Regions from separate parts of the Homo sapiens genome. Here region 1 is linked to region 2. The links are contacts of gene promoters, found by promoter capture Hi-C in blood cells and fetal thymus (Javierre and others, 2016). All regions are on one chromosome and are shown on one strand. Each heading gives the region's core, a stretch centred on a gene start or on the middle of the fragment in contact. The rest is flanking DNA. Distances are from core to core; before and after follow the strand shown.

Region 1 (6,545 bases), core at 978-3,477, 230 kb after region 2:
GGGGTGAGGATTGAAAAACTGCCTGTCAGGTACTATGCTGATTACCTGGGTGACAAAATAATCTGTACACCAAACCCTGCAACATGCAGTTTACCTATATAACAAACCTGCAGCCGGGCGTGGTGGCTCACGCCTGTAATCCCAAAACTTTGGGAGGCCGAGGTGAGTGGATCACCTGAGGTCAGGAGTTCGAGACCAGCCTGACCAACATAGAGAAAGCCTGTCTCTACTGAAAATACAAAATTAGCCGGGTGTGGTGGCGCATGCCTGTAATCCCAGCTGCTTGGGAGGCTGAGGCAGGAGAATGGCTTGAACCCAGGAGGCGGAGGTTGCAGTGAGCTGAGATCGCACCATTGTGCTCCAGCCTGGGCAACAAGATCTAAACTCCATCTGAAAAAAAAAAAAAGTCCTGCACATGTACCCTTGAACTTAAAATAAAAGTGAAAAAAAATAAAGAAATAAAGTCAGTGATGAAGACCTTGGGAAACAGTGAGCATCTTAAAGTCTGCAAAGGCTGGGGAGAAGAAATACGCCTGGTAAGAATGTCATCTGTTCAGTAAGAAGGCAGATGCCAGAGCTTAGAAGAAATTTAAGGTGATTTTTTTGGGACGAAGCACTGGGAGAAAAGATGGCTAGTAAGAGTAGGAACCTCACAGGAATTCCTTTCGGTTCATTCCATTTGCAAATGATCCCAATGAGGAAAAATTGCCAGAGGCCTAGAGTGGAAGGAGCTAATGCAAAAATTATTCTGGCAATGTGAATTCTAAACACTATTGGGATGCAAGCGTTGGCTGGACAATCATTAGAACATTGTGCCAAGGATTCGCAGTGTCTGGTAATTGGTTATTATTATTGGACTTCAGAGGTCACTTCAGTTCTTGAGATACTTCAAAAGTTCCCAAATGTTTTTGTTGGATTCAAAATTGACCATTCGCTGATTTTTGAAGTCCATAAGCAACAAAATATGTAAAATATGTAAAATTTAAAAAGAAACACAAAGTGCCATACATACTTATTAGGCATCCTTTGGAGGAAACAGGAAGGCTGTCTTCCAGGGTAGTAAATACTACCTTGAAAAACGTACCAGTATCTGGCCTTCAGCCTTGCACACTCCAGAAACTGAAATTATTTACATTCTAAGAGTGAAACCACCTCTGGGAGCAGGCTCACTTTCACCAAGCCCATAACATTAGTACCAGTTGAAGAATCTACATGAGAAATAACTTAAAGAGAAGATGACATTTTCATGGGTCTTTTTGACCAGGATATTTTCTTCCTATAGATATACCTGCATGAAAAGTGAAATTATAACCAAAGGTTATTTTCTTTTTTATAATTAAACTTTTTGAGATAATTGTAGATTCACATGCAGTTGCAAGAAATAATACAAAGAAACCTCTGTACTCTTTACCAAGTTTCCCCCCAATGATAACTTCTTGCAAAACTACAGTACGGTATCACAAGTCCAATGGTGACATTGATACCTTCAAGACACAGAGTAGCTCCATCAGCACAAGGATCCCTTGTATTGCCCTAAAAGCTTATTTTCTCAGCAAATATTTAGAACATTCTAATATTCTAGAAGTTCTAATAATACGGAATGGCATCTAATGCATTTGTTCTAAAACAGATTTTGCCAGGCACTCTGGAAAATTCAAGTGCCTTGGGTGGCTCTCCCTCCCCCATGCAATGTGTCGTAACCAGCACTTCTGAATTTGTCTCAGACTCTCTCTTTTCTCTAAGCTGCCATGGCTCACCAAACCTCCACCCCCATTTATAAGTCCCAGGTTCTTTTTAAAACCATCTTCAATCAACTTACAGTAATTTCTGCAGGTCTTGAAGCAGCCCCTCCCATGTTCCCCAACTTCTGATACAACCTCATTTATGCCTTTGCCTCATAAAGACCTACAAAACATTTTTAATTTTGTTTACTTTTGCCATCATATTTATGGATCATTTATGAAGTTTCAGGCCATAGCATACAAATTATATTTTAGGCAACTCCGGATTTTGTCCACTTTCTCTTTCTTCCAAATAAAAATATAAGCTGCAGCCATGCAGGTCTGTCTTCAGAAACTGGCATGGGCTCTTTGTTATCATTAGACAGTAACATGACATCATACACCTGTTTGTGTGATTCCCCCATCACACTCCTTCCCCTGGGATCCCTCAGTGAGTTCTGATGGTTTATGCACATCCTACTGCAATTTTTCCTATGACTGCCATTAAACATAAAAGACAATTCCACACTTCAGTCCTCTATTAAAATATAATATTATTATGGACAAGACCAAGTAATGCTTTCACGAAATGGTTTTTCATTTTCTTTAGCTCTGTCCAGTGTACAATGTATGTAACAAAACTTCCCTATTTTTCCACTGGAGAACCTCCATTCAGAATTCCCCCTAGATGGCAGATGTTGGCATGATTTTACTCCAGTATGTGTTTTAAAAAGAAAAGGAATGACACTCCCTAATTCCAATCCCAGCTATAACATTGATAGTTTAAGAAGTGTGAGAGAGCCCCCAGAACTGCCAATATTGGAAGTCCTATCAACATCAGATTGACTCACTGGAGAATTGTGAGGTTTGTTATGTTCAGAGTTTGCTCATGTGTAAAATGTGGAAAAATGGAAAAAGAATCAGAGGAACATGTATAATGATTCCCACTGAGGTTAACAAGTGTAGATTTGTTTCTAAGATATTAAGAACTTCATGAAATTATAGAAATTTTGAAGACTGATAATACTGATATTATATGAAATTATAGAAATTTTGAAGACTGATAACACTGTATTATGTAAGTTGTTCTGAGAGATTCCCACGGTATTTGTATGATGTTTCAATACCTTCTTTCAGCTTAGATAAGAATATTGGAATCTTCTGAAAATCGATATCAGAATCTACCCAACCTAAAAGCTTTCTACTGTACCTGTCTAATTAATATAAAAGCTTGAGAGTACTTGATATAAGTATAAATAAATGATATAAAGGCTTGAGAGGATGTTGATAGAACTTCTAGGGATTGGATTTAGGGAGTGTCCTTCCTTTTCTTTTTAAAACACATACTGGAGTAAAATCATGCCAACATCTGAAGTCCCCTCAGAATGGAGTACAGATATTATGAATCCAGATTCACCAAGAAGTTAGTTTTTTTTTTTTTAATTTAAAAAGCTGCTCATGCTGGGAATGTAAACTGGTACAACCACTGTGGAAAATAGTGTGGAGATTCCTTAAAGAACTAAAAGTAGAACTACCATTTGATCCAGCAATCCCAAAACTGGATATCTACCCAGAGGAAAAGAAGTCATTATACGAAAAAGATACTTGCACGTGCATGTTTATAACAGCACAATTTGCAATTGCAAAAAATATGAAACCAGCCCAAATGCCCATCAATCAATGAGTGGAAAAAGAAATGGTTGTATATATGATGGAATACTACTCAGCCATAGAAAGGAATGAATTAATGACACAGCAATCTGGATGGAATTGGAGACTATTATTCTAAGAGAAGTAATTCAGGAATGGAAAACCGAACCTGAAATCTTGTAAGTGGGAGCTAGCTATGAGGATGCAAAGGCATAAGAATGATACAATGGACTTTGGGGACTCAGGGGAAAAGATGGAAGGGGTGATGGATAAAAGACTACAAATTGGGTTCAGCATACACTACTCGGGTGATGGGTGCACCAGAATCTCACAAATCACCACTAAAGAACATACTCATGTAACCAAATACCACCTGTTCCCCAAAAACTTATGGAAGTAAATTTTTTTTTAAAAAAAAAGCTGCTCAGCTCTGTCTGATGCATGATCTCGTGGTAACAGTGGAAGTGGTCAGATGTTTGTCCGATCTCCAAAACCCATGTTCTTCTACCTTTTAAAGATAAAATGCTTCTTAAAACTGTTTCATCGGGGCATGGTGGCTCACGCCTGTAATCCCAGCACTTTGGGAGGCTGAGGCAGGTGGACTGCCTGAGGTCAGGAGTTCGAGACCAGCCTGGCCAACATGATGAAATCCCATCTCTACTAAAAATAGAAAAAAATTAGCTGCGCGTAGTGGCGTGTGCCTGTAATCCCAACTACCTGGGAGGCTGAGACATGGGAATTCCTTGAACCAGGAAGATGGAGGTTGTAGTGAGCTGAGATCGCACCACTGCACTCCAGCCTGGGCAACAGTGAGACTCCGTCAAAAAAAAAAAAAAAACACCACTAACACACACACAAAAACCTGTTTCTTCCTTTGTTAAATTAAATTTCTAATTAAAATTTTTATTTTTAAAGAATAGAGATTGGCATGCCATTGTAAGATGTGATACAAGAGATCCATGTACTCTTTGCCCAGTTTCCCCAAAAAATAACATCCTCCAAAACTATAGAAAAACATCACCAACAGCATATGATATTGATATTGACATAGCCAATGTACAACACATTTCTGTCACTGCAATGATCTCTTTTGATTGTTCTTTTATAGCCACTCTCACCTGCCTCCCACACCCACTCCTTTCTTTATACCTGGCAACCACCAATCTGTTCTTCATTTGTATAATTCTGTCATTTCAAGGATGTTGTATAAAAAGAATCATACAGTGCTTAACATTTTGAGACTGGTTTTTTCAACACAGCATAATTCCGTGAAAATTTAAACAGATTGTTGAACAGTTTTTCCTTTTTGTCACTAAGAATTACCCTCTGGTATGTATGTACCACAGTTTGTTTGATCATGTGTTGAAGGACATCTGGGTCGCTTCCAGTTCAAAGCAGCCATAAACATTCATGTACAAACATTTGTGTGAACAAGTACAATTACTGAGTTGTATGGTAGTTACATGTTTAATTTTTTTTTTTTTTTTTTTTTTTTACAGAGTCTTGCTCTGTCACCGAGGCTGGAGTGCAGTGGCACTGTCTCGGCTCACTGCAACCTCCGCCTCCTGGGTTCTAACGATTCTCCTGCCTCAGCCTCCCGAGTTGCTGGGATTACAGACATGCGCCACCACGCCCGCTAACTTTTTGTATTTTTAGTAGAGACAGGGATTTACCATGTTGGCCAAGCTGGTCTCAAACTCCTGACCTCAGGCAATCCATCCGCCTCAGCCTCCCAAAGTGCTGGGATTACAGGCATGAGCCACTGTGCCCGGCCAGCATGTTTAATTTTTAAGCAACAGCATCAACTGTTTGCAGAGTGTCTGTACCATTTTACATGTATGACTGATTCTGTTTCTTTGAACACTCACCAGCATTTATTTTAGCCATTTTGATAGGTGTGCTAACTTTTCGTGGTTTTAGTTTGCATTTCCCTAATGGCTAATGATGTTGAACATCTTTTCACATGCTTATTTGTCATCTGTATATCTTTTTCCATGAAATATTTCTTCATGTCTTTTGCCCATGCTGTACTTTTAGTGTTTGCTTTCTAATTGTTCAGTTTTTAAAGTTCTTTATACATTCTAGGTACTACTCCTTTGTCAAATATGTGATTTGCAAATATATATCATGTATAGTTCACAGCTTGTCTTTTTCTCCTCTGTTCTTTTGCAGAACATAATTTTTTTAATCAATTTATTAATTTCTCTTTAATGGATCATGTTTTTGGTGCTACCTAAGAACTCTTTGGTCTTACATGCTAAAGATTTTCTTCCATTTTTTTCTAAAAGTTTTATAGTTTTATATTTTATATTTAAGTTTGTAATTTATTTTTTTGATTCTTTTTTGTTTGTTTTGTTTTGTTTTCTTTCTTTTTTTTATTATACTTTAAGTTTTAGGGTACATGTGCACATTGTGCAGGTTAGTTACATATCTATACATGTGCCATGCTGGTGCACTGCACCCACTAACTCGTCATCTAGCATTAGGTATATCTCCTAATGCTATCCCTCCCCACTCCCCCGACCCCACCACAGTCCCCAGAGTGTGATATTCCCCTTCCTGTGTCCATGTGATCTCATTGTTCAATTCCCACCTATGAGTGAGAACATGCGGTGTTTGGTTTTTTGTTCTTGCAATAGTTTACCGAGAATGATGATTTCCAATTTCATCCATGTCCCTACAAAGGACATGAATTCATCATTTTTTATGGCTGCATAGTATTCCATGGTGTATATGTGCCACATTTTCTTAATCCAGTCTATCGTTGATGGACATTTGGGTTGGTTCCAAGTCTTTGCTATTGTGAATAATGCCGCAATAAACATACGTGTGCATGTGTCTTTATAGCAGTATGATTTATAGTCCTTTGGGTATATACCCAGTAATGGGATGGCTGGGTCAAATGGTATTTCTAGTTCTAGATCCCTGAGGAATCGCCACACTGACTTCCACAATGGTTGAACTAGTTTACAGTCCCACCAACAGTGTAAAAGTGTTCCTATTTCTCCACATCCTCTCCAGTACCTGTTGTTTCCTGACTTTTTAATGATTGCCATTCTAACTGGTGTGAGATGGTATCTCATTGTGGTTTTGATTTGCATTTCTCTGATGGCCAGTGATGATGAGCATTTTTTCATGTGTCTTTTGGCTGCATACATGTCTTCTTTTGAGAAG
Region 2 (6,682 bases), core at 40-2,539:
ATAACATAAGCATAAAAGGAGAAAAAGGTGGTGATGGTTGAAAAATGGATAAAAACTAAATTGCTTAGAAACTCATTAAAGCAAAATTTATTTTCTCTGATCTCTGTTTCCCTATTTTTATTTAAAAAATGGCAACAACTTGCTGTTAACATCTTTTGGTCCTGAGTCATCTAGTTATAATGGTAGAGTGTATTTCTGGAGAAAGGAAACACCATGAGACTCTTCTTTTTGTTTCTGATTTTTAAAGACATAGTCTCACTTTTGTCTGGGCTGGAGTGCAGTGGCAGGATCTTGGCTCATGGCAGCCTCAACCTCTTGGGCTCAAGTGATCCTCCCACCTCAGCCTCCCAAGTAGCTGGGACCACAGGCATGTGCCACCACGCCCATCTAATTTTTTTTTGTGTGTGTATGTGTGTGTGTGTGTGTGTGTGTGTAAGGATGGAATTTCATCATGTTGCCCAGGATGGTCTAGAACTCCTGGGCTCAAGTGATCTGTCTGCCTCAGCCTCCCAAAGTGTTAGGATTACAGGTGTGCATCACTGCGCCTGACCAGAAATACTATCAGACTCTGAATGCTGCCTCAAGATGACAATTTCACTCAAGAAATTTTTCTATTCTTCAAAAAAATTTTCAGCATCAACTGAACAAAAAATATTAAAGTTTAGCAAATAACTGTTGCTTGGAAACCATTAATTCACAACACGATTAAACAGGTTCTTAGGAATCTTACCTTCTGCTGGAGCTCCTCAATGGTAGTGTAGTAAGACAGGTAATCAGGACATAGAACAGGGAGCTCTTTGTTACTTTCTTCCTGGATTTTAGATTCCAGTTCAGCATTCTCTCGTTCTAGCATTCGCACCTTTTGCAGGTAGTTAGCAAGGCGCTCGTTCAAGATTTGCATGGTCTCCTTCTCATTACTGTTGATGCCTTCACCATACCAGCTGCAGTCATCCAGAGAAAAACGGGCATTGAAGTTGTTCATTAGGTAGATGGGCTTGCGACAAAAGCGAGGAGTGGGTTGGCAGCCCTGGTCCCAGGGAATTCTGAGAACGTGGCCAGCTGGTTGACAGTTGTTGACTGTAAGGCCACCAGGATGGCAGCCGTTGTTAGAAGAGATGGTACTAACATTTGTAATCCTAGAGCAGTTTTGACATGGGGTTGAAGGAGAATTGGTTGTTGTACAGCCCTTGGTGTCCATAGTATGTGTCTGGCTTTAGTTTGTTCCAGGTCTGTGGTCACCAGGATGAAAAGCTCAAGCCACCTCCACAGAGTCTGAATTCCAAGGCTCTTGGTGTTTTCCTCTTTGAAGTGCTTATATAGCCTCTCTTCTACGTGGTGTCACACAGGTGGGATGTTTTCCTTTCTCAGGTTTATATCAAATCCTGTAGGAACATCTTATTAGTCTGCTTTTTACTTGCTTAAGAAGAGTTATTTGTCTCATAAACATGTGCATTTAGGCTGTTAGTAAGTTATTACCCATCATAACTACTACTTGTCTATTGGACCCAGAGCTTCAAATTATGTCTTCAAAAGGAACTGTCCTAACAGCATCCATTATTAAGCAGGTGTGAGTATACTAAGTTCATTACATTCTTGTTGACCTCTCCACTTGGCACTGAGCTTAACCAGGAATGAGTTCATCCTTCTTTTCCTTTCTTCTCTAGAAAAGGGAAACTATTAATGTTTAATAATTATTGGTAAACTTAGAAATCAGAAGTCAATATTTTAGTTTGTTCTGCCCAAATGGTTTCCCCATTTTCAGTGTCAGGACAATGTGAGTATGAATTAAAATGTTAGTCTTTTAAAAGTCTTGTTTTAAAGATAATTGCTAGATTTATGTTTTAGCTTTCCATAAAATGTAATAACATAAAATAAAATATAAATAAAATATGAAATAAAATAAAAGCCATGGGGAAAAGGTAGGGTTTGATTGCTAATAAGAAATTTCTTGGAAAAGAGACTAGCTCTCTTTTGGTTTTCCAAAGTCCACATTTTATAACATTTTTAGTGCTTGGTGTTTGCTTGTGGTATTACATTAGATAAAAATGTATCACAGTGTTGGTTTATACTGGATGTTTAAATAGGATTCATTGAAAGGGGTGTGTTTTCTTTCTGAGGAATACTTACTCAGCATTTTCTTCAGAAAGTTACTTGCTGCTAATCCTTTATGGAGGCTCTAGGGGAACATCATTTTCTTGCCTTTTCCAGCTTCTACAGGCTGTCCACATCCTCAGCTAGTGGCCCCTTTTCATCCTTTTTTTTTTTTCTTGAATTATGAGATTTTTTGTACTTTGAGTTCTGGGATACATGTGCAGAACGTGCAGGTTTGCTACATAGGTATACAAGTGCCATGGTGGTTTGCTGTACCCATCAACCTGTCATCTACATTAGGTATTTCTCCTAATGCTATCCCACCCCTAGCCCCTCACCCCCTCACAGTCCCCGGTGTGATGTTCCCCTCCCTGTGTCCATGTGTGCTCATTGTTCAACTCCCACTTATGAGTGAGAACATGCAGTGTTTGGTTTTCTGTTCCTGTGTGAGTTTGCTGAGAATGATGGTTTCCAGCTTTATTCATGTCCCTGCAAAGGACATGAACTAATCCTTTATTATGGCTGTATAGTATTCCATGGTGTATATGTGCCACATTTTCTTTATCCAGTCCATCATTGATGGGCATTTGGGTTGGTTCCATGTCTTTGCTATTGTGAATAGTGCTGCAATAAACATACATGTGCATGTGTCTTTATAGTAGAATGATTTATAATCCTTTGGGTATGTATCAAGTAATAGGATTGCTGGGTCAAACTGTATTTATGGTTCTTGATCCTTAAGAAATTGCCACACTGTCTTCTGCATTGGTTGAACTAATTTACACTCCCACCAACTGTGTAAAAGTGTTCCAATTTCTCTCCATCCTCTCCAGCATCTGTTGTTTCCTGACTTTTTAATGATTGTCATTCTAACTGGTGTGAGATGGTATCTCATTGTGGTTTGATTTGCATTTCTCTAGTGACCAGTGATGATGAGCTTTTTTCATATGTTTGTTGGCCACATAAATGTCTTCTTTTGAGAAGTGTCTTTCTATATCCTTAGCCCATTTTTTTGATGGGGTTGTTTGTTTTTTCTTGTAAATTTGTTTAAGTTCCTTGTAGATTCTGTATATTAGCCCTTTGTCAGATGGACAGATTGCAAAAATTTTCTCCCATTCTGTAGGAGGCTGAGGCAGAAGAATTACTTGAACCCAGGAGTTCAAGTTCAGGTGGGCAACACAGTGCGATTTCATTTTTAATAAAATAAAATAAAATACAAAATAAAAGCCATGGGGAAAAGGTAGACCGTTATATGTATTATATGTACTTTGGGGACAATTTTGTATTCCCTTTGGTGTGGGGGCAGGGAATGTTGAAACCATACTTCATCCTTTACAGTGGGACGAATTACAAGTAGATCAAAGATTGAGATATGAAAAATAAATAATAAATATGCCCAAAAGGATAATTATTTTATAAATTTGGAGTCAGAAGACTTTTCCAATGATGACTCAAAATTAAGAAGCCGTAAAAAACTGTTAGATTTGACTCCATAAAATAACAGTGTTTGAACTTGTGCTTGGGTGAAAAATACAACCTGTAAAACCAGAAGACAAGATGACAAACTGGGAAACAATATTACAATTACACTCTAGACAGTGACCAAAAGGAAAATACAAAAGGCACTTAAAATAAGAAAAAATGCTCAATGTCACTCATGAAAAGAGAAATGTAAATTTAAATTATACTGAGATATTTTAGTTTTCCACCTATCAAACTGAAAAAAATCAAAGTTTGATAACAGATACATTCACTGCCTATAGCACTCTCATTGCTTGTGGCAATGAAATGTAAATTCATGCAAGTTACTATAATGCTACTACAATTAAAACAGTGTGATATTGGCATAAGGGTTGGAAAGTAGATCAATGAGAAAGAATATAGAGTTTAGAAATAGACTCACATATATGTGGTCAATTGATTTCTGACAAAGATCCCAAAGCAAGTCAATGAGAAAAGGAAAGCTTTTTCAATACTGTTTTTTCAATACTGTTCAATACTTGTCGCTGAATCAAGTGGATACTTGTATAGCCAAAATGAATACATCTTGATCTCTACCTCACGCTACGTATAAAACTTAATTCAGGTTGGATTAAACACTTAATTGTGAAGATTTCAAGTCTAAAGTTTTTAGAAGAAAACTCAGAAGATTATATTCATAACCTTCTGCCATGAGAAGACTTCTAAGCTCATGGAGGACACTATAATAAATAGATTAGACTTCATCAAAATGAAAACCTTTTGTTGATCAGATAAATAGCTAAGAAAGTGAAAAGGCAAGCTACAGCCTGGGTTAAAATATTCTCTCTCTCTCTTCATACACCCACCCCCCAACGCACACATTAGAACACATACATACACAACGTCATATCTTTTGTAACAATGGGAATATATTCTGAGAAATTCACCTTTAGTGATTTTGTTGTTGTGTAAACATCACAGTGGACTTCATGAACCTGGATGGTATAGCCTATAACACACTTAGGCTATATGGTATAGTCTATTGCTCATAGGCTGTAAACCTGCACAGCATGTTACTGTACTGAATACAGTAGGCAACTGTAACACAATGGTAAGTATTTGTTATCTGGAAACACATTTAAACATAGAAAAGGTACAATAAAAATATGACATTATAGTTTTTTGGGACAGCTTTTGTATGTGTATGTTCCATCATTGTTGACTGAAATGTCATTATGTGGCACATGACTCTATAAATAAATATGTGTATAAAAATAAATAAACACATATTTATTTATACAGTAATATACTATCTCTCTCTCTCTCTCTCTCTCTCTCTGACAAAGGACCTCCCCCAAGGACCTAGCAATTTCATGGTTAGGTATATGTCCAAGAGAGATGAATGTATATATTTTATACACACAATAATATTTGCACAAGAATGCTTATAGCAGCTATATTCTTAATAGCACTAAAATAAAAATAACTGCTCATAAACAGAATAATGGACAACAAACTGTGACATGTTTATGTAATGGAGTAGTATGCAACAACAATAAAGAATGAACTGCCGGTACTCATGACACCATGGAAAAATCTCAAAAACATATTGAGCTGAAGAAGTCAGGCACAAAACAGTACGAACAGTATGACTACATTTATATTAACTTCAAGAACAGGCAAAACTCATCTTTGACATGGTTAGAGATAAGAGTAGTGGTTGTCTCTGTCAGAGAGATGTACTGGCTGGAAAGCAACAAGAAAGAATTTCTAAGGTTGATGTTCTACATTTTGAAATGCTATTCTGTATCTTGATCTGGGTGTTGATTACACAAATTCATGTGCTTTCAAACTCCATGAAGCTGCCTACTTTTATTTTTATTTTTAGACACAGGGTCTCACTCTATTGCCCAGGCTGGAGTTTAGTAGCATGATCATAGCTCACTGAAGCCTTGAATTACTGGGCTCAAGTTGTCTTCCCACCTCAGCTTCCCAAGTAGCTGGGACTACAGGCACATGCCACCATGCCTGGCTAATTTAAAAAAATTTTTTTAGAGATGGGGCCTCATTATGTTGCCCAGGCTGGCATAAACTCCTAACCTCAACTGATCCTCCCACCTTGGCCTCCCAAAGCACTGGGATTACAAGCGTGAGCCACTGTGCCCAGCCTGACCTGCGCACTTTCAATTGATGCATCTTATTGTCTGAAAATTGTATCTCAATAAAGTGGAGTTAACATAAAAAGTTAAGATTTGATACAACTGTGCAGCTGCATGAATGTTCACTACTTTATCTATATACTTAAATTACAAATGGATCAAAGATTCAAATGTGAAAAGTGAAAATCATAAATGTACTAAAATAAAATATAGGAGAATACTTTTACAAATTCAGATGAGGAAGGCCTTTGTAACAGTGACTTGAAATTAAGAACCTGTAAAAAATACGATAAATTTGACTTCATAAAATAGCAGTGTTTGAAATAGTCCATTAGTTTGAAAATGTATGAAAAATACTGAAAGTAAATAAATCAAGAGGTTAGCAGTGAAATTCTTTGCATTTTATAGTTACTGATGAATATTATTTTCTTGTTTTTATTCCACAAATTCCACAAATTGAATGTATCTCTTTTAGAATCATTAGAAAAATTGTCTGCAAAACTGTTTCTGCTTCGTTAGTTTCTTAGACTTTTTTTCTGCCTCCATACCTTTCTAATAATTTTTATTCTTTTCCTCTTGTGTCTCACATGCAGAGTTGTTCCTTCCTTGGCTGATTCCCTTTTGATTTCTTCAGGGCCACATTTCATCCATTATGCTCCCCCTTTTCTTGCCTCTTTCATGTCTTCTTTACTACTGGATCATTTTTTCTTTCCCTATAAGCACATCTGTTAACTGATCCTACAATGTCTGACCCGTAACCATGAGGCACTTCTTCCATGAAGGTGGCTTCTGCCTTCTTTTCATTACCAAACCTTTTGACAGAATAGTGGGTACTTATTGTCTTTATTTTTCTACCACCAGGTCATTTGTTAACTTTTGTCAATCTGGCTAGCCTGTAAATTACTTTACCACATTCTCCACTTTGGAGATCTTCTTTATCTACCTTCATATAGCTCCATTGCTGGTGCAGA

Evidence for each region. The method cuts DNA at HindIII sites, captures the fragments that hold promoters and counts their contacts. A CHiCAGO score of 5 or more calls a contact.
Region 1: a contact is called between a fragment that was not itself captured here and the fragment with the promoter of KRT39 in region 2, in 1 of 17 cell types (erythroblasts). The highest score is 5.2, in erythroblasts.

Annotation. Positions count from the first base shown.
Region 1 is chr17:41,195,132-41,201,676 of GRCh38, forward strand. No RefSeq gene overlaps it. Among named protein-coding and RNA genes, the nearest start is that of KRTAP9-1, 8.5 kb to the left of the region's middle. The HindIII fragment of the contact is 1,378 bases long and covers 1,539-2,916 here.
Region 2 is chr17:40,965,659-40,972,340 of GRCh38, forward strand. It overlaps KRT39 (keratin 39), which reads right to left and starts at 1,290. Exons shown (of 7, transcript NM_213656.4): 1 at 731-1,290. The coding sequence starts at 1,198. All of the region lies in intron 1 of LOC107985072 (a long non-coding RNA gene), which reads left to right. The HindIII fragment of the contact is 5,044 bases long and covers 1-4,053 here.